Regions from separate parts of the Homo sapiens genome. Here all the other regions are linked to region 2. Evidence: promoter capture Hi-C in 16 types of primary human blood cells and fetal thymus (Javierre and others, 2016). All regions are on one chromosome and are shown on one strand. Each heading gives the region's core, a stretch centred on a gene start or on the middle of the fragment in contact. The rest is flanking DNA. Distances are from core to core; before and after follow the strand shown.

What was found. Contacts are between HindIII fragments. The CHiCAGO score rates a contact against its expected background, and 5 or more counts as called.
Region 1: the fragment with the promoter of ZDHHC3 here is called in contact with the fragment with the promoter of ACTR8 in region 2 in 1 of 17 cell types (total B cells); the score reaches 8.7 in total B cells.
Region 3: a contact is called between a fragment that was not itself captured here and the fragment with the promoter of ACTR8 in region 2, in 1 of 17 cell types (non-activated CD4 T cells). The highest score is 10.6, in non-activated CD4 T cells.

Annotation. Positions count from the first base shown.
Region 1 is chr3:44,974,300-44,977,704 of GRCh38, reverse strand. It overlaps ZDHHC3 (zDHHC palmitoyltransferase 3), which reads left to right and starts at 1,531. Exons shown (of 7, transcript NM_001135179.2): 1 at 1,531-1,772. It overlaps EXOSC7 (exosome component 7), which reads right to left and starts at 1,461. Exons shown (of 8, transcript NM_015004.4): 1 at 1,371-1,461. The coding sequence starts at 1,427. RefSeq lists silencers at 1,495-1,564, 1,685-1,784 and an enhancer at 2,007-2,551. The HindIII fragment of the contact is 4,817 bases long and covers 1,134-3,405 here.
Region 2 is chr3:53,880,492-53,883,959 of GRCh38, reverse strand. ACTR8 (actin related protein 8) reads left to right here and starts at 1,808. Exons shown (of 13, transcript NM_022899.5): 1 at 1,808-1,981. The coding sequence starts at 1,859. RefSeq lists silencers at 1,592-1,681, 2,072-2,181 and an enhancer at 1,842-1,921. The HindIII fragment of the contact is 9,111 bases long and covers 1-2,465 here.
Region 3 is chr3:44,767,045-44,770,658 of GRCh38, reverse strand. All of the region lies in intron 1 of KIF15 (kinesin family member 15), which reads right to left. Among named protein-coding and RNA genes, the nearest start is that of KIF15, 7.1 kb to the right of the region's middle. The HindIII fragment of the contact is 3,204 bases long and covers 75-3,278 here.

The sequences.
Region 1 (3,405 bases), core at 282-2,781, 8.9 Mb after region 2:
AAAATCACCTGAACAAAGTGTATACAAAAATATAGCAGGGAAAGACATATCTAACTGCTTTTGGGCATTTTTATGCCCCCTCACACACAAATAACATACATGTTACCCTGTAATACACACATATGTCCCACTGTTGTTAATCCTGAATTATAACTAAAATATGCAACTGTGAGTTCTGACTTTATTATCCAGGCATAATATGCTAAATATTGGCATTTCTTCATATATAAAGGGCCCAGAAGATAACGGCAGGTCACGATTTTTAAATGGACATGTCCTTAACTCACGTTGTGGGACTTCAATGATAGCTGGCCGCTTCAATCCGATGGCTACATCACGGGACCACTGACTTTGCAGTTGGTACTGACAGAGGAAAGGCATGAGGAAAAGAGGTAGGAGCTGTCGCCAGAACTCTGCCAAGGATGGGATGAAGAACTCTGATAGGAGGACCACACCGTAGGTTAACAAGTGGAGACACAGCCGGAGGAGGATACAGGGTAGCTCGTTACCAGGTCCAACATTTTTCAACCCTCGTTCTGGAGTGGTCATAACCAGGGATTTAATATAGAACACAGAGGACATTAGGTTATAGCTGCCTAGGGATCTTAGTTCTTCATTGGCAAAATGGAAACAGCACTTAGGCTATCGGCTGCCTAGCCGCTTTTTTTTTGAGACTCGGCTCACTGCAACCTCCGCCTCCCGGGTTCAAGCGATTCTCCTGCCTCAGTCTCCCGAGTAGCTGGGACTACAGGCGTGCGCCACCACGCCCAGCTAAATTTTTTTGTATTTTTAGCAGAGACGGGGTTTCACCATGTTGGTCAGGACGGTCTCTTGACCTCGTGATCCGCCCGCCTCGGCCTCCCAAAGTGCTGGGATTACAGGCGTCCTAGCCGCTTTTTAAAAACCCTTCCCCCTTTATTTGTACGGCAATTTGTATTTTCAAAGTGCGTTCACCTCGCATGCGCCCTCCTAACCACGAGGTGAGGAAAAGCAGGCCAGAAGCCCACCTCCAAACTCCCATTTCCTCGAAGAGAAAACTGAGGCTCGGACAAGATCTGTGCGCGAACGCCGAATGGATGGCCCTGGGGCCGATGCTCTCTCACTAAGAAAAGGCCTCCGAGACTGCCCAAGCTTCCTGCCCGGGTTCGGAATCTTATAGACCCGCAAAACTGCAAATGCGCTAACAGTCCTAAAAACGTCCACGTTGCCAGCTCTGAATTGCAAACGCCGGCAGCAGAACCGTTTAATCACAAGGTAAACGGAGAGTCGCCGCAGCTCGGCTGCCTCCTCACTGGCAAACCCAGGGCAGGCCGCGACCCGCAGGGCCAGGCTGAACCCGGCGGCCGACCCAACGCCGCTGCTGTAGCTACCTGGACGCCATGCACGATGTACACCTTCTCCGCCTCGCTCAGCGTCACGGACGCCATGCTGCCGAGCTGCCCCACGAGCCGCACGTCATCTGCGCGCGTCCCCTCCTCTGGACCGCGCCCCCACGTCCCACCCCCCCCCGCCCCGCGTCAGCGCGTCATCAACCTGCGCGGCGGCCGCTCCTGCAGCCGCGGCCGCCGCCACTGCCGGGAGAGCTCGATGGGCTTCTCCTGCGCGCCGCCCGGTGTCTGGCCGAGTCCAGAGAGCCGCGGCGCCTCGTTCCGAGGAGCCATCGCCGAAGCCCGAGGCCGGGTCCCGGGTTGGGGACTGCAGGGGAAGGCAGCGGCGGCGGCGGCGGGAGCCCCACCGGGGTCTGGGACTGGGGAACTGCCTCCGGCTTCACGGTCAGTTGGGAAGGGAAACTGGGGTAGGGGTGAAGAAGCTGGGGTGAGGCGAGCCTCACGGGCCGGGGGACTCCCAGTGGGAGAGGCGTGCGGCGTAGTTGCTCAGAGCTGGAGTTGACTTAGGAGCGTGTGTGTGTGTGTGTGTGTGTGTGTGTGTGTGAGAGAGAGAGAGAGAGAGAGAGAGACCCCGACTAAGGAGGGGCGGACGTCGTGATTGGCCCGGGGGTGCTGTTTCCCTGCTCTTCTCCCCTCCATTTCTCTAGTCCCTAGGATGGCTGGAGAGGCGATGCAGCCCTCCCTAGGTAGTTCTTGGTGGGAAGGGTCCGGGAATGGGGGACACTAGTCCTAAGGCGTCCCCACCCCTCCACCCAGGAATATCTCTCGCTGGCTCGCTCACTCTCTGTGACCGAACGCTGTCCCATTACCTTGCTGGGACCTCTTGCCTCGGGTGCTTACCAGAGCGTTGTCCCACAGACGGGGGAGGAGGCGCTTGGTAACCGGCACTGGCGAGGTGCGCAGTGCCCGGACGTCCCCAACGCTTCCTAGCGGGAACTGGAAACCCCGGCTTGATGGAAGTGATTACTGGGAGCTGTGAGCAGTTGCCCGAAAAAAAGCCAACCCCAACCCCTTGCGATGGCCGAGTGGGAGTATGGGCATTGGATACCCGGAGAGGATATCTGCAAGGTGAAGCTGGGGTCACCAAAGGAACTCATTAAGGCGGGGCTGACAAAGTATGGTGCAAGTTTTAAAGGAGCCGTGTGGATAAATGGGAGAAAGTTAACCCAAATTAGTTGAAGCAAGGAGGGCAGGTTAAAGCAATTCTGATGACTTTCCTGATGTTCCATTTTTGAGGACCCTCAGCCAAAAAAAAAAAAAAATGGTATTTATCAGATAGTGGGTTCAAATACAGTTTCAGATAACTATTGGGAGCCTACTATAGATAGGCTTTGTGCTACCTTTAGAACACAAGACAAGTAAAACATACTATGCCCAGAGAAGTTCCCTGGGCAGATGAAGGCTCCAGGGCCAACATAACCACAGATCATGGTGGTTAGAGCTATGATGGTCGCATCAGTGGGCACAGTGGGATTGGGAGGTCGTCTGATAAGGTTATAGAGAGGAAGTGCTTGCTCACATTCTTAAGCATTAAACTGCTGAGCTCCAAAATTGATGATCAGTTCTTCGTAGACTGGACATTAGATGTTTCTTATGTCTCTACGTAATTCTCCACAGGGGCACCTAAAAGGAAGACAGCTTGCAGGGTTGGACTTTGCCTTCCAGGGAAACTGAAAGAGGTGAAGCCGGAAGGATTTCCTCCCTAATGAAGGCACAGGTGCCCCACCTGTTGTGGCACTTAGATGTGTTTGTGTGTGGTTGGACGGCTGGGTTTTATGTGAGGAGCTCTGTTGTGATAAGATAACATGAGATTGCTGATGTTATAAATGATATTTTCTAGATGTGCTAGAGATTGCTCAGAAAGGAGAGACCCTGGAAGTGGGATTTTAGAAGCTAGGATATCTGAGGAGACTGAGGATTTAAGAGGTGACAGCAAATGGACAGATCAGAAAGACACAGGAAGAAAAGCCTGAGTTCAGATACCATGGAGTTATCTTTATATAAAGATTTTCCAATG
Region 2 (3,468 bases), core at 559-3,058:
ACATATATACAAAGTGAGGTAAATGTATAATGACATTTGCATTATACAGATACATGCAAGGGTTCAGTAAAGTTTGGCAGCTTCCTAGATTGTATTGCCAGTGAATGGCAGAGGCATTATTAAACCTCCACCTTACCCTATAGCGGGGAGACCATGGCAGAGTCTCAGTAGGTGGTTGATTGTTGTTACTGATGGCTCTTCCTGAGCATGTGAACCATGGTCCTCTTCTGCCTCCTAGCACTGCTGCTGCAGGACTTGTTCCTCGGGTCTTATCCCAGAGTTCTGGCTGCATTTGACATTCAGGTATTCTTCTTTGCACTTCAGATAGAATGTAAAACACAGGTTCTTGAGTACTTTATGCTTAACTCTTGTCTTTGCTACTCAATAGCTTATGATCTTGAGTGAATTATGCCATTTTATCCCACTTCACTCACCTGTAAAACGGGGATTAAATTTTTACCTCCAAGAGTTCTTTATTTAGTATTTAGTCATCACATGCTTATTGGGCACCTACCATGTGCTGAAGATAACTGGCAAAGTCTCACGGAGCTTACATTCTAGTGTGGGAGACAGTGAGCAGGCATGATAATTACAGACTAATGCTTCATGCTTCAAAGGGAATAGGATGATGAGAGAATAACTGCGGAAGGCCTGAGGTGACATTTGAGTTCAGACGTGAGAATGAGACAGCTGAGGGAAGAGCATCCAAGGCAAAATGAACAGCAAGTGCAACAGCCCGATGACGGGAAGGGCTTGGCATGTCTGAGAAAGATAAAACAGGTGTAGCTGGAAATGCCAAGGAATGGGGAGAGTGTTGTGAGGTGAACTTAGAAATGTAGCAATAACTAGATATGGTCTTTAGGTGGTGGTTAGTTTAGATTCTGTTCTTTGAGCAAAGGGAAACCATTAGAGTTTAAAGCATGAGTGACATCTAATTTTTGAGGTAAGTCTTAGTGGAGTGCTGGGTACATAGTAGTATTAACTACGTAATATTTTAAAACAACGTGGGCAACTATATAAGAACAGATCATAGGGGGACAGGACAAGGAGTTCGAGTTAAGAGGCTGTTGTAGTCATCCAGGTGAGATGATAGTGGCTTGGGCTAGGTAGTGGCATGGGAATGGAGAAGTGGATGAATTCAAGATCTATTTTAGAGACTGCAGGATTTACTGATGGATTGGATGTAGAAGCTGTCAACAAGTGAAGAATCAAAATGACATTTACTGAGATGGTGAAAGTGAGAGGGGAGGGAATCAAGAGTTAAATTTTGGACATATTTAAGTTTGCAGTGCCTTGTAGACAATCCAGATGGAGAGACCAAGTAGGCACTGGTTATCAGTACGGATCTCTCTGAGCGGTTCATCCTGGATATATATATTTGGGAATCGTATTCATTGCTAAAGCCAGGAAACTGGATAGTCACCCAAGGAGTGTGCCTGGAAAAGACCTAACCCCAACATCAGAGGCTGGACTGAACATGAAGACATATGAGAAAAACTAAGAGTACATATGGTATCTGGGAAGCCAGGAGAAGAGATGCCTGTGAGGACGAAATAAGATGCGGGTTATCAGCCGACCCCCACTAGGCGCTCGAAAAGCTATGTGTACTATGTTGCTGGCATCTACACAGTCAGGACTAATCACAGCAACACCCACCCAATCAATCCGCATGCACACCCCGCCCCCAGCCCCTGCGCCGGGCAGCCCCACCCCCGCCTTTTCGGAGCCCTCTGGGGCGACTCCGCGGCGGCCATCTTGACTGTGGGCAGCCGGCCGTGCGCCTGCGCGGTGGCCCTTCCATCCCGGCAGTCGTGGCTGCAGCGCTGAGGCGAGAGGTTGGTGGGTGTCTCCGGCCATAATGACCCAGGCTGAGAAGGGTGATACGGAGAACGGAAAGGAGAAGGGCGGCGAGAAGGAGAAGGAGCAGCGCGGCGTGAAGCGGCCCATCGTGCCCGCGCTGGTGCCGGAGTCGCTGCAAGAGGTGCGGCTCTGGCTGGGTTGGAACTCTTTGCCCTTGCTTGGGTCCTCCGCTGCCAGGCAAGGGGCGGGAGGCGGCGGGAGGCTTCGAGTCCCCCTTGCAGGCCCCAGCCCCTGGTGGGGGGAGTGCGGAAGCGGTCGTTCTTTTCCGGGTGGTGGCGCGCCGGGACGCCGAGGGCTGGGAGGTGCGGAGCGCCAGGAGCCAGGCGGAGCCCCCGCAGGGACACCGCTCCGATCTCCCGCACGCCCCACCGTCTGGTTGTGTGCGCTCCTGCCCGGGCTCTGGCCTCAGCTTCCCCGACCATAAAACGACCACGGTGATAACCAGCCGCCTCGCAAGTTGCCGTGAGGGTTAAATGGTGGCAGATAGAGTTTAGGACCAGGCTGGCTCACTGGGAGCGTCAGCCTGTGCTTGTTAAGGGATAGTTTGGGGTCCAGGCTTTTTCCTTTGTTAAGGAAATCTCAGATAATGGAAGTCATTTCAAGCTTAAAAGCAAGGAAATGGTGGACATTTGTCTAAATATATATTAAGAGCTTGTGTATCAAAAACAACACTATTAGACCAAACTAAACTAACCAGAAAAAATTATTTGCAGTAGCGTGCCTGGCAGAGGACCTTAGATGTATACACATACACAAAACCTTACTGATCAGTAACTAAAACAGCATTCACGTAGGAAAACGGGCACAGGCAGTGTACAATTCACAGAAGAAATGAGGCATAAACTGCTCAGAAATTCATGTAGGACATCTCTGATCCAGCTTCCTTACCGGTAGATGGGTTAAGGATAATACCTAACTAGTAGGGCAGCTACTAGTTAGTTATCACTAGTATGACAGTGCCTGGCACACCGTAAGCCCAGAGTGGCCATTACTGTTGCACAGGCCTGGTTTCTCCATCTGTCTAGTTGAGAAGGCTGACTGGATGGTCTGTAAGGGCCTTGCCAGATCCTTCCCTCTAGGATTCTCCCACTCTGTGGGGGGTGATTAGGAGGAGAGAGGTCACACTTGGAGATAGGACAACAGGTATCAGAGCATGGCATGGAATGGGCTTGTGCAGAGGGCAGTATTGGGCACTCAAGCAAGTACCTCCTCCATCCCCGACAGTCAGGGAGGGTTTCTTCAAAGGAGGTGAGGTGACATCTGTTTAGAGTCCTGAAGGTGATTAGGAGCTAACCAGAGGGAGGAGGGAATCTCAGGGAAGAAGAACAGTGTGGAAGACACTTGTGCCAACAGAGGATGTGAAGTGTTGGAGGCCCAGCCAGTAGATTAGGATGTCTGGAGTTAAGGAAGGGGACTGAAGATCTTAGCAGGGGCCATATCATGAGGGTCGTGTAAGCCACAGAGTCTGACCTCTTGTGAAGGCAGTGGATCACGTTGAAAGGCTTTACTATAGTAAGAGCCAACATTCCTCGAATGCTTCCTGTGGCCCAGCTCTGAGTTACATGTATAACTCATTTAATTCTCACAGTAACTGTGAGTTAGGAGCTT
Region 3 (3,614 bases), core at 427-2,926, 9.1 Mb after region 2:
CACAACTGAAGACACTAGTTGTTTTACCAAGGCCTTTGACTGGAAGGGTATGCTTCCTTTTAAGGAGTCAAGCTTGACTTGCAGAACTGATAAAAGCTCCTTGGGAAAACTGGCCTCATACCTTGCCTACACAGTCCCTGTACAGGGTTCCTAATCTGCGGTGAGTAAGAAGTGTCACTTTTTAACAGGCCCAGGAACCCTATGCTCTTGGGACCTCAAGAAGAGAGGAGTTTACCCAACTCACAGGTATTTGAGGGTAAAAACCCACAGCTGGGTTCAGCTTTAGAAAGTCCTATCTGAGATTCCTTGTGGAATAGAGTTCCATCAAAGCCAATCTAAAAGCCCTCTGTAAAAATAAGTATTCTTGCTGCACTTCATGCAAAGAATCAAGCCAAGTATAAGACCAAAGTCTATTTTGCAAACAACTCAGTCCTATCATGGTTTGTTTTTAAGAAAACTGAGGACTGGAGAGAGATAAATTATGTTTAAAAACTTATCATCATTAAATTCTAGACCCACTAGTTGTTTTCAAGTTTTTTGCCTAGTTCGTTTAAAAACTAACCCTGCTTATGCCTGTGATCCAACCAGAGATCTCCAACTACAGCCCAGAAGGAACAAAGGGGGATGGGTAATGTAAAAATCTGAATCAATATTCTAGTTCTAAGCAATTATCCTGCAAATCCTGCTAGGTGGTGGGAATAAATACAGTGCCTGTCATCCAGAGGTTTCCTTTTTGGGAAAGTAAGACCAAGGGAGCTAACCAAAGCCAAGCTCCATGCACCCAAATCTTAGCAAACATAACTATAGCCACCAGTTATCTGGGTGTGTCACAGGGCATCCTTTTCTTTCCCTTGGAGGAGGACCCCTTTCACAGCTTCACCTTAGCATTCAGCTTATGATAAGGAGTCCATACAACCCCTGAGACATATTTTTGGTCCCAAACTCAATTCCCAACTTCAGGTCAAAGCCCTAAGAAAAAAAAAACTGGATCTGAGGGATCCAGAAGCAGACGGTAACAGAAGTTAAAAAGCACAGCACAGGTGAGCATGACTAACTCCTGCCGATTAAGCCAAGCCTCCTGTTTCATGGATAAACATCATGCTAGTATCCACGACATAAATGAGGTCTAGAGAACTTGAAGGCTACTGACAGCAGGGGAGATAGGGCGTACGTGGGTAAGCCCTGTTAACATGGGGGAAAGCCGCTTTGACATTCATGGGTGGCACCCTTTGATGATCACCCAGGTCTTGGGGATATAAGGACAGAAGAAATGAAAAGGGGCACGTCACTTTCTCCCTCCCTCACCTACCCTGGGTATTCACTAGGAAGAGAAAGGAACCAGGGACACCTGCTCCCCTCTTTCTTGATGGATTGCCATTCATCTTCAGTCTGTGGCCTTTTTGAATACATCCTGAACCCCTGGGACTCCTTTGAAAAAAACACCTTCTTTTTTCCTTTTCCCCTTGTGTCCTCTCTTCACAGATAGGTAATTGTGTCTCCTTACTACAGCACACTCCCCTTGGATCCATCCTCTAAACTGCGAAAAGTTAATTTCCCAAACCTTAAACTTGAGAATAGCTTAGGACTGGGCTTGGGGGAAGGGAACCTCGAAGACTGACAAGCCAGCAAAAGGGTAAAAATTTTTTTTAACTTTTAACAATCAGGCTTTTGGCCTCCCTCTCCCTGTGCAAACCAGTAAAAGGCCTCGGGATTTTCGAGCATGACTTCTGGCATGACTTCTGTCCTTACCCCATCCTTGTTTTGTTTTGATACATGTTTTCTAATAACTCAGTTTGTCTCTTCTCGCCTTCAGGTCATCAAACTCCAGTCGTGCAACTGGAGCCTCAGATAATGGTCCCTTTTGCCAGGAACCTTTAGATTGGCCTCTTAGGGAAATCTGACTGCCATTTTCCCAACACAGCACCCCCTGTCAGCAGGAAGCAGTTAAGATTGGTCTTTGTCCTTATCTTTATTCTAAGGGCAGTTAGATGTACTTCTTTAGAGTGGGGAATGATAGAGACAGGAGACAGCCAAACGCCTGCCGGGTCACTGAAAAATTCTGTCCCTTAACACATGCGCAGTAAGGAAAATAAATCAATGTGGAGTGGCTCAGACTAAAGGCCCACATGCGCCCTGGGAGAATGGAGTGGAGCCACTGGGAATTTGCACCTTATGCAGGGGGAGAAGCCTGGCCTCTTCAGCTGGTGTATCACACTTTTTTTCACTGAGAGCTTCCTTTTAATAAATTCCACTCTCCTCATCTTTCGATGTGTCCGCGTGCCTGATTTTTCCTGGTCATGCAACACGAACTTGGATTTTAGCTGAGCTAAGGAGCAAAAAATCTTGCATCAGTGGTTTTTTTTTTCTTTTCTTTTCTTTTTTTTTTGAGACGGAGTCTTGCTCTGTCACCAGGCTGGAGTGCAGTGCCACGATCTTGGCTCACTGCAACCTCCACCTCCCAGATTCAAGCAATTCCCCTGCCCTCAGCCTCCCAAGTAGCTGGGACTACAGGGTGCACCACCACGCCTGGCTAATTTTTTGTATTTTAGTAGAGACGGTGTTTCACCATGTTGGCCAGGATGGTCTTGATCTCCTGACTTTGTGATCTGCCCGCGTTGGCCTCCCAAAGTGCTGGGATTACAGTAGTGAGCCACCATGCCTGGCCTGTTTTTAAATACTAGGTACAAATTGATGATTCACAAATTTAAACCTTCCTGGACTGCTGTCCTGAGCTCCACACTCCTTTTTTTTTTTTTTTTTTTTTGAGATGGAGTCTCGCTCTGTTGCCCAGGCTGGAGTGCAGTGGCGCAATCTCCGCTCACTGCAAGCTCCACCTCCCGGGCTCATGCCATTCTCCTGCCTCAGCCTCCGGAGTAGCTGGGACTACAGGGGCCTGCCACCACGCCCTGAGAATTTTTTGTATTTTTAGTGGAGACGGGGTTTCACTTTGTTAGCCAGGATGGTCTCCATCTCCTGACCTCATGATCCACCCGCCTCGGCCTCCCAAAGTGCTGGGATTACAGGCGTGAGCCACCACGCCCAGCCGAGCTCCACACTCTTACAACTTATTACCTATTTGATATCTCTAACTGGATATGCAGTGGGCAATGAATCAAATTTAATGTGTCCAAAATTGAGCTCCTGATCACCCCACCTCTAGCCCAAATGTGTTTCTACATCTCCGTTAACTCCATCTTTCCAGTTGCTTAGGCCAAAAACCATATAGTCATCCCTGACCCTGTTCTTTCTCACTCTTCGTATCCAATCTCAGCAAAGCTTTGGCTCTAATTTCAAAATATACCCACAATCCAACAACTTCTTGCCAAATCCACTGCCACAGTGTAGAACCAAGCCAGCAATATCTCTTTATTGTGTTATTACAATAGTCTTTCTGCTTCTCTTTCTCCCCCACTCTCATCTTTTCTCAACCTAGCGGGCAGAATAATTCTGTTAAAAAAGAGTTCAGAGATTGACTTCTGACATGACATTATGAGGAATTCCACTGACCCACTCCCCAGTGAAACTGGTGAAATTTAAAAAAAGAAAGTTGGCCGGGCACGGTGGCTCACACCTGTAATCCCAGTACTTTGGGAGGCCGAAGCGGGCGGATCACG